Regions from separate parts of the Homo sapiens genome. Here all the other regions are linked to region 2. Evidence: promoter capture Hi-C in 16 types of primary human blood cells and fetal thymus (Javierre and others, 2016). All regions are on one chromosome and are shown on one strand. The core of a region is centred on a gene start or on the middle of the fragment in contact, and the rest is flanking DNA. Distances in the headings are between cores, read along the strand shown.

Region 1 (2,997 bases), core at 189-2,688, 1.2 Mb after region 2:
CAAAGGGATGGGGTTTAGGTTTTAATTTTTTTTTTTTTTTTTTTGCTACGCTGATTTAATCCTGAAGTATTAGCCATCCTGCCAGTTCCATCATGAGAATACTGGAGATGCATGAAGGTTTTTTTTAGTGCACTTCATATACGAGGACTTGAAAACATTTCACTTTCATTACTTTGAGTGAATAAGCAGACTTGATGCTACATGCAGTGAATATTCTTGGATCATTTTTTATTTTTATAAATTGAATCATGTTGAATGTTCTGAGCCTTAGTGTCTAAAGGATCCTGTAATCTAGGTTTTCATGTTTGTGATCATGTGTATATGAAGAACCTAGCCAGGGGTAAGTTTGCAGCGAGAAATGTATGGTCTATTGGCATGGCATTTGCTAAGTTTTTTTCTTCCTGTTTTTAACATGTTTGTCTTCTGCTTCATTAACCTAGTGTGTAGATGAATGCTATACACTTCTTTTTCCTAGGCTTTAATTCCATCAGTCATAAATTTCTTGTAGGTCTTTCACGTGTTAATAATTCCAATTGAGTCAAGTAAATTTGGAGTAGAATAACTTAGTTCCTAAGTTGAATTTCATTTAACTCTCCAAATAATTTTTCAGAAGGGATTCCATTTTTTGCTAATGATAGAATTGACATTTCCAGCTGGGCATAGTGGCTCATGCCTGTAATCCTAGCACTTTGGGAGGCCGAAGCAGGCGGATCACTTGAGGTCAGGAGTTCAAAACCAGCCTGGCCAAAATGGCGAAACCCCATCTCTACTAAAAATACAAAAAAATTAGCCGGGCGCAGCGATCACTTGTAATCCCAGCTACTACGGAGGCTGAGGCAGGAGAATCGCTTGAACCTGGGAGGTGGAGATTGCAGTGAGCCGAGATCATACCACTGCACTCCAGCCTGGAAAAAAAAAGAATTGACATTTCCATCTTTGTAAAAAATAGTTGAAGGCCGAGTGCAGTGGCTCATGCCTGTAATCCCAGCACTCTGGGAGACCAAGGTGGGACGATTGCTTGAGGCCAGGTGTTTAAGACCAGCCTAGGCAACGTAGAGAGATTGCATCTCTACAAAAAAAAAATTTTTTTGAATTAGCCAGGCGTGGTGGCACATGCCTGTAGAGGAAGCTGAGACAGGAGGATTGCTTAAGGCCAGGTGTTCAAGGTTACAGTGAGCAATGATCGAGCCAGTACACTCCATCCTGGGTGACAAGTAAGACCCTGTCTCAAAAAAAAAAAAACTTGACAAATGTAAAGTTGTTTTCCGCCTTTTCTGTGGGTCTCTCTGCAAGCATGTTCCAAGCACGTGTATTTCCTGCTCTGTTTCTCTGAGTATCTAATTGGTGATTTCCAAGATTGCTTCCTTTGCTCTACTGTGTGGTAGATTGGAAACAGATTCTGGTGCCAGGCTGCCTGTCCAGCTTTTTGCTTTGGGGCAAATTAACAGCACTGCCTGGTGGGATAGGGCCTCATTCATTAAAATGGGGGTAACTTACAATCCCTATTTTGCTGGGTTGTTGGGTTTGAAAATTAAATAATGTTTTGAAAGCTCCAAGGCCATTGCTTAGCATAACAGTCCCCCCTCTTTCTCTCCTCTTACTAAGAAACAAGTGAATATATTTCTTGTGTTTGTTGAGTCTCTTTGTGTGTTTTTTTTTTTTTTTTTTTTTTTGAGATTGTCTTGCTCTGTCACCCAGGCTGGAGTGCAGTGGCATGATCTTGGCTCACTGCAACCTCTGCCTCCTGGGTTCAAGCAATTCTCCTGCCTCAGCCTCCAGAGTAGCTGGAATTACAGGCATGCGCCACCACACCTGGCTAATTTTTGTATTTTGAGTAGAGACTGGGTTTTACCATGTTGGCCAGGCTGGTCTTGAACTCCTGACCTCAGGTAATCCGCCTGCCTTGGCTGCCCAAAGTGCTGGGATTATAGGCATAAGCCACCATGCCCGGCCATGTTCCCTTTTTTAAAATGTGTATGAGGAGGGGGCTTACTATGCAAGCGCTTGGAGGCCAACGAGCACTGAAAATGAGGAGAGAGTTCAAAAATCAAGTTAGATCCTGGGATACGCCAACAAATCCAGACACTACAGTTCTTTCGGAGAAACCTGGGGACGAAAAGTAAGGCTTTGACCTCAGAAAATGAACATACAGGAAAAATAATGTGTCCTAATGTGTCCTAATGAAATTTCTCTAGTATTCACATGTTATAAAATGTTAGGAAGAAAGAAGATGTGTCCTCCTACAAGCCATAAATCAGAATTCTAATAATCTAAAGCTAATTAGAAAAATATTACATGTTAAATATTAAATATTAGAATAGAAAAATGTATGAGGGAAAAAAATTGAGACACAGCTGAATTTTTCAGGCTGTTCCAGCACTAAAAAAAAAATACAGGAGAAGAATGTCACATATTTTCCTCTTCCTCCCCCTCCAGATTCCATAATATCAAATTCATAACTTTTCATTTGCGCATGCCTTATTTTCCATTCCTTGTTTGTCACTAATCCTGTTAGTAAAAGGATTCCCCCACCTATGTTCATAATTAAGTTTTGGTCTAAAAAGAACTACAAACAGAAGCACAGTTCCCTAGATTTCTAATTTTTTTTTATTTTATCACAGCCAGTTAACTTATTACATTGGATACTTAAACACATAGTACCATAAACTGGATGTGGTCTTGTAGCCGCCAGATCTTCAGTTTTGACTTTGGCCCAATTCTCCTAGAAGTACTTAATTTTAATTCATTTTATTACCTAACGTCCTATTAATAATCCCGTTGGTTTCAAAGTATATTCTTAGGTTTCACAAGAGGCTGAAATTTGGTCTTAGGGGTTGTCACTTAAAAATAACTAATGTAATTTTTGGCCGGGCACGGTGGCTCATGCCTGTAGTCTCAGCACTTTGGGAGGCCAAGGCTGGCAGATCACGAGGTCAGGAGTTCGAGACCAGCCTCACCAATATGGTGAAACCCCATCTCTACTAAAAGTAGAAAAAT
Region 2 (3,028 bases), core at 379-2,878:
TATCAAACAGAACTAATTGCTGAGATGCTCATAGTAATATGCAAAACAGCTTGTCCTTTGTTATTTAGAAATTGTTTATATTAAGTTTATATTCTCTTTTAATTTGTTAAAGATATAATTCTTTGACTGAGATAGGACATTTCTTCTCATTGGTTTATTTATTTTAGAGATGAGATCTCACTATGTTGCCCAGGATGATTTTGAACTCCTGGACTCAACCAGTCCTCCTGTCTCAGCCTCCCCAAATGCTAGGATTACAGGTGTGAGCTACTACACTCAGCCATTTCTTCTAGTTTTAGATCTATATAATAAAACGATGCTTTTCTGTGATCCCTTAACATTCTCTACACTCAGGTGCATGTTCAAAGCATATTTGTTTTACTGTTGCCTAGTTTTCCATGTCATTCATTGAATTATCCAATGCATATTAATTATCAGTCACTTTTCCCATTACTAAGGGTACTTGAGTGAACAGAGCAGACAAAAACCCCACCCTTAAAAAGCTTATATTATTTTCAAGTTGTTGCAACTTTGGGTGTTTTTAAAAAATAAAAATTCCCAGCTGATAAAACCAACTTATTTGACAGCTACCTGCCTCACCAGTAGAACCAAGTTATAGCCAGAATTCAGAAATAACATTTTTGAGCATTTATTGTGTCTGACAATGTGCCAATCACTTTACATTTATTTTAGCTCATTTAATGCTTACAACAACTAGAAGGAGGTACTATTAGGATCCCTATTTTACAGATGAAAAAAGTGAAGGTCAGAGAGATTAGTTAAGCAGAGGGTACAAGATTAGGTTCCAGTTGACTCTTAACAACCATTTCATATTCCAGGTGATGCTTTACAGACATCTGATGAATGGATGGATGAATGAATGCATGCACTTTGGGAACTCCCATTCAGCTTGGCATAAATACTAACTCCTTAGAATACCCTAGAAAAATCTAGACCTTTTGTTGGAAGAAAAGAGTGGGAAGGGTGGTAGGGAATTATTTTTTCGAGTGAATTGAGGCAGATGATCTTACAGATGACTGGGTTCTAGTCAGCATGGTTGCCTTATCTGGTGAGAGATGAGAATTGGGCAGACACCAGTTCTGTCTGCCCTGGGCCCTCAAACTGAGTAGCCTCTGAGATTCAAGTTCATCAGCACAGTGTTGGAGGACAGTTCCTGCAGAGCCCCATGAATCAGAGGAGACTCGGAGGCAGGAGGAACTGGCTATCCTAAAGGTGATTTTAAACCGGGGTAGCTAGAGCCCAAAGAAGGGCGAAACCAGGACTAACTGCCCCATAGCATGAGGGGCAGCGCCTGTAAAATTACATAGGATTTGTAAAGGTGGAAGGCACTGTTGCGCCGGGTAAAGCTTCGCAAGGTCGTGGTAGGGGAAATGATTCACTCCCCTTCACTATTCCCTCGCAGCATGGTCCTCACAACCCCCTTCTCTTTCCCCATTTCCATTTCCGGACTCTTCTCCTGCCCGCAGGGCAGACGCACGCGCAGAGAGATTGCCAGCCCTGGCTGCCAGAGACCCGGAAGCATCGATCGGCTCTGTGCTCGGCTTCTAGACTTGTCGGCGCTCGATTGAGGAGCGTGGCTACGTTGCTTCCGGTGCCTGGCTCCGTTTCCTGCTTTTGGTTCTTACAGTAGTCGGCGTAGGCCTTAGGTGGGTTCGTGCGCCTTCTACCTCGCTGTTTCGGTTTTCCTGGCTCCTCGGCCCTTTTCTCCCCTGTTGCAGCTGGGAGCGGACGAAGCGCGAAGCTGGGGTGGGTACGCGTTTGGCCCGGGTTTGGATCTCGGAGGGGCAGGCTTGGGGGTGAGGAGACTGACTCTGGGGCCGGGCATCGCGTGGCAGCTCCCTTGGACTTCGTTAGGGGGCCTTGGGCGAAGGTGCTTGTGTCTGGAGAGGCGGGAGGCTTGCGCGTACGAAGTAAAGGATAGTTAATGTCAGTCTGCTCGTGCGAGGCGTGGACAGTTCACTGCGCTTTCAGGTGTCTTCCAGCGGCTCCCTTTTGGTGGTGGCGGGTAATTCAGGGTGTCCCTGTAACAACGCAGCCCACGATCAAACCTCGCATGAAACCCTGCAAGAGCCTCCCCTTTGTCCCCCTACCTTCACTTTGACCTCTGCCTCAGTCACTTCCCTTTCGTCGTCTCCTTTGCGACCCCTGCCCCTTCTCCAGATTTCGATTTAGGGGGTCGCAAGGCTTTGAGAAGCGTTACGTTTTACCTGTTACCTGCACAAGTGCAGCCCCTGCTTGTAGGCTCTTCCCTTGTCAATCATCCAATGCAGTTCACATACAGTGGATGCTCTGTAAATACTGTGAGATAAAGGAATATGTGGGGCACACAAGGAAATCATCCAAGTTCACAATTTGCAAGTAAAAACCATGTAAAAAATGCAATAGTGTGGTATATGAGGAAGACAAGTGTAGAGGAGAAAGCAAGGGCTGAATTTCCAGGCCTGATGCTTATTAGCTGTGTGACCTTAGGCAAGTTCCTTACCTGGTAATAGCTGTTAATAATAGCTACTCTTAAGTGTTTACCGCTGATGCAGAACTGTGCTAGAATTCATTTAGTCTTCTGAGTTCTATTGGGTAGGTTCTGTTACCATTCTTATTTTACTGATGAGGACCTGAGAGGTTAAGGAACTTCCCTCAGGCAAACAGCTAGTAAGAAGCATAAATAGGATTTGAATTCACATCTGGCTGATACTGGAATCTGAGTTTAATCGTCATGCCACACTGCTGTCATTGAGCTCCTTTCTTTCAAGTCGGTTAGAGATAACCTTGGAGTCCAGACAGCTTGGTGATGCTGTATACAAATTAATAGGTATGGAAGGACTTTGTAAGTGCACCCATTAAGTAGTTGGCAAACTTCATTAATGTCTAACCTTATGATTTTTACTGGATGTACATTTGCTACTTTGGTCATTTTTCTTCAAATCTACATTTTAAAATTATTTCATTGAGGAGGTGGAAAGAAAATGTCACGTGTCATAAGTGAAACGTAAGTGTAAAAATAAATGTG
Region 3 (2,801 bases), core at 266-2,765, 1.6 Mb after region 2:
TGCCAGCCTGATTCTTCCTTGCATCAGGGCCTTTGCACTGACTGTTCTCTTGCCCTAGATGTTCTTTTCAAAGTTATTCCCTGGGCTCTTCACATCCTTGAGATTTTTACTCAGTCACCTCAGAGATGCCTTCCCAAATCACCCTATCTAAAATTCTAAAACCTCACCCCACTTCTGTGACTATCCTTTCTCCTTCCCTGCTTTATTTCTCTTCATGCCACTCATCACTTTCTGATACAGTGTGTATTTTATTTATTCATGTAATTGGCCCATCTTTCTCCTCTAGACTTTCATGTCAGTGAGGGTAGATTTTTGTCTTTGTTCACTTCTGTATCCCCAGGGTTTAAAATAGTGCCTATCACACAGTAGGAGCATAATAAATACTTGCCAAATGAAGGCATAATCCATAGGAGTAATGGATGAGGCAGACTAGGATGTTGGGAAATGGTCTACAGAGACTGGCAGGAGGCTTTTGCCATTGTCCTGGTGCTCCAACTGGTGTAGGGGTGGGGAGGAATTGAGAGAGTTGGCAGAGGTGGAATCCATTTGCCTTGATAATTGGTTTGATATGGAAGGTAGAGAGAAGTAGTCATGGGACTGAGTAAGTGCCATGGATGACAGGAAGATGCTTCTGTTATCAGGTAAGCTGAAAGAGAGAGGGCGCAGTATGTCAATAACCAGCAAGGGTTCTGGTTATTGACTGCTACACAACAAACCACTCTAAAACTGAGTGGCTTAGGAGAGCAACTATGTTTTAATCTCCCACAGTTCTTTGGGTTTACCCAAAGCGGATGTGATCAGCTGAGATGTGAGTGATGCATCTTGCTATGGCTGCAGTCATTTGGGGACTCATTTGGGTTGGAACATGCAAGATGGTTCCGTCACACATTTGACATATTTTCGTGGGTTCCATCACATATTTTCGTGGGTTGGCTGGAAGGCTGGGGTCAGCTGGGACAGCAGGCCTCACTCTCTCCAGGTAGTGTAAGGGCTTCCAGCAGGATTGAACTCGTTACGTGGTACGTTAGAGCTCCCAAGAGTGAAAGCTGTCTGGCCTTCTTAGGACTTAAGCCTGTAACTGGCACAGTGTCACTTGTGTCAAATTTATTGGTTAAAGCAGGAACAAGGCCAAAATGGAAGAGCTCCCAATGTTTAAAGCTGGAATAATTATAACAGCAATATAAACAGTGATACTATTGTGTTATAACCCATAGGATAAGATATAAATCCATACTGATATAAATAAATAACTGAATATAAATAAATGGGGAGACAGAACAGCTCTGACAGAGGAATTCTAATTAATGGATTTAGAATGAAAGGGGGAAAAAGCTGGAATAATTTTAACAGCAAAATAAACAGTGATACTATTGTATTATAACCCATAGGATAAGATATAAATCCATATTGATATAAGTAAATAACTGGATACAAATAAATGGGGAGACAGAACAGCTTTGACAGAAGAATTCTAATTAATGGATTTAGAATGAAAGGGGGAAAAAGAACTTTGTCATTTGGTAAACAGCACAGTAATAACTATTGCAGATAGGTTCCACAGATATATGCTAAAATTAGTGGCTGAAAGTTTGAAGAGAAATAGGATATTTGTATAATCTCAAAGTATCTCCCTCAAGATATTTATTAATTATAAAGGGAAATGTAGTGACTTTACAATGGAGAAGCTCAGAAGACACCCCCTTAACCAAGTGATCAAGATCAAGGTTAATATCGCCAGTAAAAAGACATAACAATATCATGAACTCATTGATATGTTGAAGGACACAGCATCACATCTGAGGTATTCTAACCAGAAGTGAAAAACTCGTTCTAATCATGAAAAAACATCGGACAAACCAAAACTGAGGGATACCCTTCAAAAGCGCCAAGTTCGTGAAAGATGAGAAAAGACAGAGGATCTGTCACAGATTGGAGGAGGTTAAAGATCCATGACAACTAAAGGCAATGTGGAAACCTCAGTTGGATCCTGGACCAGAAAAAGTACATTGGTGGAAAAACTGGCAAAATTTAATTAAAGTCTGTAGTTTATAGTATTGTGTCAATGTTAATTTCCTGCTTTTGATGATTGTACTATCATTTTCTAAGATGTTAACATTAGAGAAAGCTGGGTGGAAGGTATGGGAATTGATATTTGTGCAACTTCCTTGTAAGTCTAAAATTTGTTACAAAATAAAAAGTTTTAAAAATCCATCAATTCTATATTCTTGAGTTTTTGTTTTGTTTTTTGAAGAAGGGGTGTTGAGTTTTGGTAAAGAGTATCTTACATGTAGAGAGGCAATCATGACTTCTCCTTACATCTATTATTGTGGTGTATTATAATAAAAGATCCCCTAAAATTGAACCAGTCTTGCAATCCTGGGTAAATTTTTCTTTGCCATGGTGAAATATTTTGTTATTGCGATGTTGGAGTCTTTTTGCTAACATTTTAATTCGAATTTTGCTTCAATATTTGTAAGTGACAATTAGTCTATAATTTTCTGTTTTTGAACTGTCATCAAGTTAAGGTCCTCATGGTATCCTTGCTTTATAAAATGAATGAGAACTTTTCCCTTTAGTTTTCAATGCTTTGGGACAGTATTTGGAGCATAAGGACTACCTGGTTTGAAGGTTTGATAGAATTTCCTTGTGACCATCTGGAGTTAATTTTGAGAGTTATTCACTTCATCTAGGTCTACACGTTTATTTATATAAAGGTCTGCAAAGTAGTCTTACATGACTTTTAAGAAGATGTTTTTTGGTGACTTTGCCTTTCTTATTTCTTATTTTGAGAGCTTGTTGGG
Region 4 (2,954 bases), core at 118-2,617, 1.8 Mb after region 2:
CATGTCTGGCTAATTTTTTGTGTTTTCAGTGGAGACAGGGTTTCACCGTGTTAGCCAGGATGGTCTCCATCTCCTGACCTTGTGATCCGCCTGCCTCAGCCTCCCAAAGTGCTGGGATTACAGGTGTGAGCCACGGTCCCCGGCCTACTATCTGCATTTTCAAGAGGTGTTCCTCTGTATTTGCATGAGTGAAAGATTGCTGTGAAATTTCACATAGAGCTTCCATAAGCTTGATTTCCTGAAACTAGTTAATGTAGATTTATATTTCTTTCATGTTGCTATTAGGCACAGCTTTAGTGGTCGCTTTAAGGTTAGTTTCAGCAAATCTCCATATTCACTTTGGGATTCACAGTAGCCCTTTGGGTACTACTGCGTACTGGGTAAGTATGATATAAATTTGATTGTAACTTCTGAATTAAACAGACTGGACCTATTCTTTAGGACCAGTGCACATACCCCTCATTCCTTCAGCAAGTGTGGATTACCCACCAACTGTGGCCAGTGCTATTCTAATGCTGGGAATGCAGTCAGGACGACATGATTGATGCTGAACCAGTTTCCTCAGTGGTCTCTTGGTTGCAGGCAACAAACACAAGTGAGCTTAAATCAAAAGTGGGTGTTTATAAAAAACGTGTATTGGTAGCTCAGAATTAAAGCAGAGAGTATGGGCCAGGAGCGGTGGCTCACGCCTGTACTCCCTGCACTTTGGGAGGCCGAGGGGCGGATCACAAGGTCAAGAGATCGAGACCGTCTTGGCCAGCATGGTGAAACCCTGTCTCTATTAAAAATACAAAAATTAGCTGGGCATGGCACCGCGCACCTGTAGTCCCAGCTACTTGGGAGGCTGAGGCAGGAGAATCGCTTGAATCTGGGAGGCGGAGGTTGCAGTGAGCTGAGATCGCACCACTGCACTCCAGCCTGTTGACAGCGAGATTCCATCTCAAAAAAAAAAAAAAAAAGCAGTATGTTGTCTTCAGAAGGCCTGACACTGGGACCAGAATGCAGGCAGCCACTTGTTGAGCCTGCCTGGGCTCTTGGCCTTGCTTTTCTTATTGCACACCAGCTGCTTTTCTCACCTTTCTGGAGTAATACAAATATCCCAAGAAGATACTACCTCCCATGTGCAGTGCCAAAGTCTGACCAGCCTCTCCTCAACCTGGTCTTTGGCTTCCACCCTTGCGAGAGACTCAGTTCAGTTTTTATCAGATCCCTGCCTATGGATTATAGAGTACTGCCTCAGTTATGAATAAAGTGGCATTTGTTTCTCATTTAGGTAGTGTTTTCCTGTTCATAGCTGTTGGGACCCTGTGAGTAGAGATGTGATGTGTGGTAGGACAGGAATTGGGCATTTCAGGGTTCCTCTACAGTACTATGACCTTCAGACCCTCATCTTGATTTCTCATTGGTGTCAGTTCCACCATTATGGGTGGCCTGAGCAGTGCTGTGGTGCAGTCAGCCTTAGTGACAAGGATTCCAAAATCACAAGTAACAGCTCCAGATGCTGGTAGCAGAGACTCAGCTTCCCAAGGGATATCAGGTCAAGCATGGATTCGTGCCAATTGGCTGTGTATTCCAGTGGACCATCTTGGTTGGCATCAAACTGATGAATGAGAAGCAGTGTACGACAGTAGATGGGGAAGGTGAGAAGCAAGTGAATCAGAAGTATGGGAGAAATGGGAACAGTAGCATGAACGTTTTGGAAGACATTTCCTAACATGAGGGCTTCCAGAGAAACAAAGGGCAAGGGCTGAGGGGCTGTGGCACTTGGCAGGTGAGAGTTGTTAATAGAGCACACCGAGGATAAACAGCTGAACTTCTACTCTCACCTGGCAGTCTACCCAGGATTCATACACTTGTGGGGCTTAAGGGGACATTTGGGTTAGCTTTCCTTGGGACTTGGCTGGGTTTCTTTGCTAGATCTAATTTATTCTCTTATTTCAGCCCAGCGTTCTCCTGAACTCAAGATCCATGTCCATCTAGCATTGCCACTTGGATATCTAGCCACCTCAGCTTTGTCCATAACTTAAATTGCTGTCATCACCCACAAGGCTGCTCTTCCTTCCGTTCTCTTTCTCAGAGAGTACTCAGTTCCTCAAATTAGGAACCTATCATTCTAGACTTCTCCCTCTTCTTGTTCCTTCTCCTTCCTCCAGCCACCAGGTCCCATCATTTCTACTGCAAATATTCCACTCCATTCCCACCTTCCCATTCCCTTTACCACTACCTTACTTAAATCCTCCATCCTCTTTGCTTATGTAGCCTCAACTTCCTACTCTCTTTGTCTCTACTTGGAGTCCCCTCCAATTGGTTTCTACAGTATTAGCCAGCATGACTTTTTTGAAATTAATTTTTATATTTTTAACAAAGCAACAAATGCATTAAAAAATTAAATAATGATCAAAAGTTTGTAACCAAAAAAACAGTTCCTGCTTTATCCCTCCTTGCTTTCAACTATTAGGTTTTTTTTTTTTTTTTTTTGGTATTTACGTCCACATTTCTAAATAATAAGCTTTTACTAATATCTTTAATTTATCAATCATGTATGGGATTTATTAATGAGGATTTGATCCTCCTTTCCAACTGACTAACCAATAAAACTATTGCATATTTTTGATGAATCAATAATTAATATTTACCCTGTTTTAACTATGCAAACATAGTTTGTTGATAAGCCAAGTAAGTGAGCTATAATTGTTTCTCATATAACTTTTCTTTCTGGAGTTAACTGCACTCTTTTTTTCATTTGCTTTGTTTTCTTGATGTTTCTCTCTCATTCTTTCCACATCCTCTAACCTCACAATATAATTTTCCACACAAACCTTTCCAGTTTCTCTTTTCTGTTTTTAAATCTTGGAGCTCTTTGTCTTCTTGGTACAATCTGGACTGATCACTCTAGTTCTGCTTTGCATCCATTTTTCTTTGCTATTTGCTTTGCCATCCTATAATGGATCTCT

The links. Contacts are between HindIII fragments. The CHiCAGO score rates a contact against its expected background, and 5 or more counts as called.
Region 1: a contact is called between a fragment that was not itself captured here and the fragment with the promoter of SNRPB2 in region 2, in 3 of 17 cell types (non-activated CD4 T cells, activated CD4 T cells and naive CD4 T cells). The highest score is 6.6, in non-activated CD4 T cells.
Region 3: a contact is called between a fragment that was not itself captured here and the fragment with the promoter of SNRPB2 in region 2, in 1 of 17 cell types (total CD4 T cells). The highest score is 5.3, in total CD4 T cells.
Region 4: a fragment that was not itself captured here is called in contact with the fragment with the promoter of SNRPB2 in region 2 in 7 of 17 cell types (total CD8 T cells, non-activated CD4 T cells, fetal thymus and 4 more); the score reaches 8.7 in total CD8 T cells.

What each region holds. Positions count from the first base shown.
Region 1 is chr20:17,972,412-17,975,408 of GRCh38, forward strand. The region is part of intron 2 of MGME1 (mitochondrial genome maintenance exonuclease 1); the gene reads left to right. Among named protein-coding and RNA genes, the nearest start is that of MGME1, 4.9 kb to the left of the region's middle. The HindIII fragment of the contact is 5,566 bases long and covers 1-2,997 here.
Region 2 is chr20:16,728,398-16,731,425 of GRCh38, forward strand. It overlaps SNRPB2 (small nuclear ribonucleoprotein polypeptide B2), which reads left to right and starts at 1,629. Exons shown (of 7, transcript NM_003092.5): 1 at 1,629-1,767. RefSeq lists enhancers at 740-1,608, 1,667-1,716, 1,767-1,886 and a silencer at 2,037-2,086. The HindIII fragment of the contact is 9,448 bases long and covers 1,366-3,028 here.
Region 3 is chr20:18,292,428-18,295,228 of GRCh38, forward strand. All of the region lies in intron 1 of ZNF133 (zinc finger protein 133), which reads left to right. It also overlaps the pseudogene RN7SKP74. Among named protein-coding and RNA genes, the nearest start is that of ZNF133, 5.3 kb to the left of the region's middle. The HindIII fragment of the contact is 9,924 bases long and covers 1-2,801 here.
Region 4 is chr20:18,569,729-18,572,682 of GRCh38, forward strand. No RefSeq gene overlaps it. Among named protein-coding and RNA genes, the nearest start is that of SMIM26, 3.8 kb to the left of the region's middle. The HindIII fragment of the contact is 2,280 bases long and covers 228-2,507 here.